Linked DNA regions of Homo sapiens: region 2 is linked to region 1. Evidence: promoter capture Hi-C in human tissues and cell types (Jung and others, 2019). All regions are on one chromosome and are shown on one strand. The core of a region is centred on a gene start or on the middle of the fragment in contact, and the rest is flanking DNA. Distances in the headings are between cores, read along the strand shown. Region 1 holds the start of SLC25A51 (solute carrier family 25 member 51). Region 2 has its middle 43 kb from the start of FAM201A.

Region 1 (3,029 bases), core at 403-2,902:
TTAATCCTACACACCAGGATGGTGTGAATATGTTCTTAATTTAGCAATAGAAGGATAATGTGCACAGCATTATTTGGTAGTACAGTTTAGACTTTTGCATGTTTACCTATACTGTGAACATGGTTAAATTTCTTTGCTAAACTGATCTTTATATTTTTATTCATTAATGTGGATAATTCTTTGCAATTTATTGCAAAATTTATTTACCATAACTTTACGCTTGTTTGCTACGTAAAACTATCTCATCATAAGGGAGCAGTTAATGAACTTGATTTTCAAGCAACTACAAGTGTCAAGCTTCTGTGACTAAGAAAACAGTGTAAAGTCTAAAACCTTATTATAATTTACAGCCTACATGGATCAGCATGATACAGATATGATCCTAGCACAAAGGTCTCTGCAAAAACTGGGGAGAGGGTGACTCCAATTCTCAAAGGATGTGAATTTCCACTAGTCAGCAGGTCTGAGTCAGCATTCAGAACAAGATCAGCCTGGGTCTAGTCCTAGTTACGACACTAGCTTGCCAATATAAAGACAAAGCAATATCTGATTTTAAAATCCACTGATCTGAGTTTGCTTTCATTTACCAAACGAGAGATCAGATGAGTCAACTCCTAGCTTGTTTTCCCCTGAGATGCGCTAAGGGTGATTCCAGTTCCAAAGCGGTAACCTGTGCTCTAAACCACTATGGGACCTCAAGAGTCCTAGCACCTTTTGATCCTATGGAATCCTTTCAAAGCACGGGCAGAGGCGGCTCAAAATGGCAAGGTCACTATACATTTCAAGGGCTTCTGTTTCAGAGATTACAAGTAGAGAAAAACAGAAGGTGGGAATTAAGATCAGCTAGGTAGAGCTGTGAGATGCAAAACAAAGGTTTTGCAGGAAGTTGAGGTGCTGACATACTCCATCTAGCTAAACTGAACACCAAATAATGGATGGAGACTAACACCACCAACACCATCGTCCCCGAAAATCCTTGTACAAGTGAGCTTCCTACAACGCGATGCAATATGCTGTCGCAGAACAAGCACTGCCAGGCTATGTAGCTGAACTTACCGTTCTCCAGGCGTCCATTTCCCCAACCTGTGAAAGGCGGGGAGGGGGTTGGACAAGATCACTAAGTCCTCTTCCGTTTCTGACACTTCACAGTCAGGGGTCCCGAGGTGAGGCCGAAATCCCAGTCTCCCGGGACGCAGAGGCCCTTGCGCGGTGCCATCCCCGCTGTCCCCCGGGCGCAGGCAGCTCCCGGCTCCTCCCCGCCCCTGCGGTTCCTGTGCACCAGGGAGGTGCCTCCCCAGCCCAGGGCGCGCCCGAATGAAGGGACAGCGCCTTCGCGGGAAAGGTCGCCCAGCAGCCGGACAAACACCCGCGGCAGGCGGGGGAGCCCGGAGCCGAGGAGGCTCAGAACTGATTCCGCCCGCGCCGCCTGGGTGGGGCCCGCAGGGACCGGGCCAGGGCAGCCGGAGCGCGCAGAAGACAGGGATGGGCCCCCAGGGCGGCAGCCTGCCCCAGCGGGCCCTTCAGCGCGTTTCCCCTCCCTCCAACCTCATGCGAAGAAAGCCCGGTGCTTCCCCACGCTCGTCCCACACTCACCCATCAGCGCCGGCGTCCCGCAGGACGGCTAGCGAGCCGGGGCCCGCGCAGGCGCAGACTGTGACCGACCCCGAGGTTGGGGCGCAGCGCGACGCGCTGGGCGCTGTTGGGGTCACGTGAGGGAGACACCGCCCCGCCCCGCCTCCCCTCCCTCGGCCCGCGGCCCGCCAGATGTCGCCAGCCTACTTCTCCTGGCCGCAGGCCGCCGCGGCGGGGCAGGTAGAGGGCCACGCCAGCACACCTGTCAGGATGCGGGCTCCGCTAGCCACCATGCTTCACCCTTGATGCCGTACGGTGGCCTCAGCGTGCCAGAAACAGCCAACGCGTTCTCTAGCGCGCTGCCTGCAGGGGGCGTCTGGGCATTGTCGGTTTTAGGGGCCTTGTCGGTTCTGCGGGGCGAGCGCCTTCGCGGAAAACTCCAAAGTACCCTCTGTGGAGCCTTGTTGAGTATCTTCAAACCTTCAGAGGGACCTTTTATCAGCGACCCATGCCGCAGTTTACAGAAGAACGCTTTGTGCGTGCTTTGGGACGTATGGATCACTTTTAAACTTTTTCCTTTGAAGCTCAGACAGCTTGCGGGGGGCTTGGGAGGAGCGCTGCCCGGGGAGTTAGAAGGCTTGGGTCAAAGTCATAGCCCTCATACTTCTTGAGAGTGACCTTGGGTGAGTCGCTGGACCCTGAGCCCCAAATCTCCGTCTGAAAAGTAACCCATGCCTTGTATGCGTCCTCGGGCTGTTGCAGGAGTCTTTGGAAATGATGGTTCTGACTCTGAGTTGGAAACTGGAACGCACACAACAGATGGGAGGCGTTGAAGGAAACAGAAAGGTCGGCCTGAGGGGAGAGGCGTTTCAGGAGGCTTGCGGATGTGTGAAGTGTGCGCACTGTGCTTGGGGCGAGCCCAAGCAGTAACCCCACCCGAGTGAAGCGTTCTTGGGGGGATCGGCTCCGGGTGGGCGACGTTCCCCGCGTGCCCCCTTCCCCCGAGAGCACTTTGTAGACACTGACTCCAAAAGCGGGTCTGGTCTCTGCCCAGCCCCACTTTGGCTGGCGTGCTTAGGTGCCTCTCGGGAAGCTGGAGACCACCCTCCCCCATTCCAGCAAACGCTCCATTGAGGAACCTACTGCGTGCCAGGTCCTGGGGAGCTTAGCGTCTGATGAAGGATACAACAACAAAAGACTGGAAATTCAGAAGCATGAGGGGACCTCCCCCCTCGAGGGAGAACCAGAGATGGCTTCACAGAGCAGACGTTTGAACTGGGCCTTGGAGGATGGATGAGTGGAATTTGGCCCAGTGGAGAAAGTCATAGCAGCAGGAGATAAGATTGTAAGGGTCAGGTGGTGGGGCTGGATAATGCGAATCTTGACTGTCAGACACAGACACCTGCCATCTAATTAGTACGCGAGGGATAAATTTTGGACTCCGCAGGATAAGGACA
Region 2 (3,109 bases), core at 573-3,072, 760 kb after region 1:
ATTCAGTTTATGTATTCAATTAAATGTGCTCAGATTGTATTGTGCTAGATAGGCACATTATTCTAACATAATATGAATGAATCAATAAAATCCTTATAATACTGATGAAATGTGGTCATTTACATGTAAATCTTATATGGCTATTTCCATATGGATATTAATAATATGTAGACCATTTGTTACTAATAGATATTTAAATTCCTTCAAATACTTGTTGATATAAGTTTATGCCACAGATTTATCTTTGGCATGAAAAGAAAGAATGGATAAGAGAGACGACTTGTAGAAATATCTTGGAGGTTGTGTAACATCTCGTTTCTGCCCAGGCTCTGTGTGTATTCACAGTATTCTGTGGAGAGGAAGCAAGTATAAGTCAAATTCCTGGTACCTTGAATAACACTCAAATCTGTGTCTCTGTTTCATCATCCTGCAGTGAGCTAGATGGATTCCCCTATCCCTTCTCATCCTTCCACCCAATACTCACCTGTCCACTCTGACTTTTATTTTGACTTTCGAGGCTGGGGATGTTAAGGGTTGGTGGAGGCAGTGCGGTACTGCTGCTCAGCAAGAAGCTTGCGTGGCCTTGCCAGGTTCCCAAATCACAAAACCACACACTGTTCTCATTAGTGTGAAGTGCAAGATTCTCTCTTCTATGCTAATTTGCAAAGAAATTAAGATGGTACCTTTCAGTAGAAAAATTTCCCTCAGTGCCCTAGTTCAGAGGAGCGATGAAATGTAACACGCAGAGAGTCAGATGTTTAGGTACTCCTCAAGTTTCCTGTAAAAGAGCAGAACTGCAGGCTGCTGGAAAGACTGAGGGTGGAGCTGGCGCTGCAGCAACTGAGGGATGTCTTTGCAAATGTGCTCATGTATGTTTTTATGTGAAAATAATCTTAAAATTTCTCAATTCAGGCTAAGAAGAAAGAAAGAAGACACAATTACTAATACCAGAAATGAAACAGGGATCATCATTTCTGATCAAATGGATGTTAAATGGACAATAAATGAATATTATGAACAATTCTATGCCCATAAATTGTACAACTTAGATGAAAAGAACCAATTCATTGAAAGACAGAACCTACTAGATGTCACATAAGGAGAAATAGATGATCTGAATGGGCCTATATGGACTACAGAAATCGAATTGATAATTAATAAACTTCCAAAACAGAAAGCACCAAGTTTAGAGGGGTTCAAAGGTGAATTATACCAAACAATTGAGGAATAAATGATATCAGTTATTCATAATTTGTTCCAGAAAATTAAAGTAGAATGAATACTTCCTAACTCATTCTATGAGGCCAGCATTACCCTAATACCAAAACCAGATAAAGATATTACAAGAAAGGAAAACTCTAGACAAATATTTCTTATGAACATAGATGCAAAAATCCTCAACAAAATATTAGCAAATTGAATCCAATAGTATATAAAAAACACAATATGTGTGTATACACCACAATCAAGTGAGGTGTATGTCAGGTATGCAATCTCAACATTCAAAAAACAATTAGTGCAATCTATCACATCAACAAGCTAAAGAAGAATCAGATCAAATGATCATATCAATAGATTCAGAACAAACATTTGACAAAATCTAACACGCATTTATATTAAAAACGCTTAGCGAACTAAGAATAGAGGAAAAACTGCTCAAACTGATAAAGAACATCTACAAAAAGTTTACAGCTAACATCATACTTAATGGTGAGAAACTAAATGCTTTCTTTCTAAAATTGGGAATAAGGACAGGATGTCCCCTCTCATCACTCCTATTCAGCATTATACTGAAGTCCTGGTTAATACAGTGTGAAAAGAGAAGGAAATAAAAGGTATACAGATTGGGAAAAAAAAAACCAAAATTATCTTTGTCTAAAATGACATTATTCTACATTATTCAGTAGAAAAATCTCAAATAATAAACAAAAATTCTCCTGGAACTGATACGTCATTAAAGACAGGTTGCAGGATGCGAAACCTTTAATTGGTTGAAATTTAAACCAAATTTAATTTGGATTAATATCCAAAAGTCAGTTGGTTTCCTATATATCAGCAATAAACAATTGAAATTAAAAGCAAAACACCAATTACATTAGCAGTAAAAAAGTGAAACACTTAGGTATATGTTAACAAACCAGGTATCAGATCTATATGAAGGAAAACAACAAAACTCTGATGAAAGAAATAACAAATCTAAAGAAATGGGGAGATGTTTAATGTTTGTAGATAGGAAGACTCAATATTGCCAGGAGGTCAGTTTTCCCATCTGGGAATCTATAGATTCAATGCAATTCTTTCTTTTGTTTTTTTTTTTTTTTTTTTTTTTTGAGATGGAGTCTCTCTGTCTCCCAGGCTGGAGTGCAGTGGTGTGATCTCGGCTCACTGCAAGCTCCGCCTCCCGGGTTCACGCCATTCTCCTGCCTCAGCCTCCCGAGTAGCTGGGACTACAGGCGCCTGCCACCAAGCCTGGCTAATTTTTTGTATTTTTAGTAGAGACGGGGTTTCACCGTGTTAGCCAGGATGGTCTCAATCTTCTGACCTCATGATCTGCCCGCCTCGGCCTCCCAAAGTGCTGGGATTACAAGCGTGAGCCACCGCACCCGGCCGACTCAATGCAATTCTAGTCACAATCTCAGCCGATTACTCTGTGGATATCAACATACTGATTCTAAAGTTTACATGAAATGGCAAAAGATCTGTGGATAGATCAATAGAATATTGAAGAAGAAGAAAGAATGACATTACCCAACTTTAAGACTTATTTTAAAGTTACAGCAATCAAGAGTCTGGTATTGGTGAAAGAATAGACAAATAAGTCAATGTAAGAGGATAGAGAGCCCCAAAATAGACCTATGTAAATGTACAGTCACCTGATTTTTGACAAAGAAGAAATGCAGTTCAACGGATAAATGGACAGTTTTGTTTTTTGGTTTTTGGTTTTTGTTTTGTTTTGTTTGAGATGGAGTTTTGCTCTTGTTGCCCAGCTGGAGTGCAATGATGCGATCTCAGCTTACTACAACCTCTGCCTCCTGGGTTTGAGCAATTCTCCTAACTCAGCTTTCTAAGCAACTGGAATTACAGGTGCCTACCACCACGTCTGGCTAAT

The links. Contacts are between HindIII fragments. The study calls those that stand out against the background at their distance.
Region 2: a fragment that was not itself captured here is called in contact with the fragment with the promoter of SLC25A51 in region 1 in 1 of the 25 tissues and cell types used here (dorsolateral prefrontal cortex).

What each region holds. Positions count from the first base shown.
Region 1 is chr9:37,902,475-37,905,503 of GRCh38, forward strand. SLC25A51 (solute carrier family 25 member 51) reads right to left here and starts at 1,653. Exons shown (of 3, transcript NM_033412.4): 1 at 1,594-1,653. It also overlaps the pseudogene PAICSP1. RefSeq lists a silencer at 1,094-1,853. The HindIII fragment of the contact is 6,842 bases long and covers 143-3,029 here.
Region 2 is chr9:38,662,613-38,665,721 of GRCh38, forward strand. No RefSeq gene overlaps it. Among named protein-coding and RNA genes, the nearest start is that of FAM201A, 43 kb to the left of the region's middle. The HindIII fragment of the contact is 4,635 bases long and covers 1-3,109 here.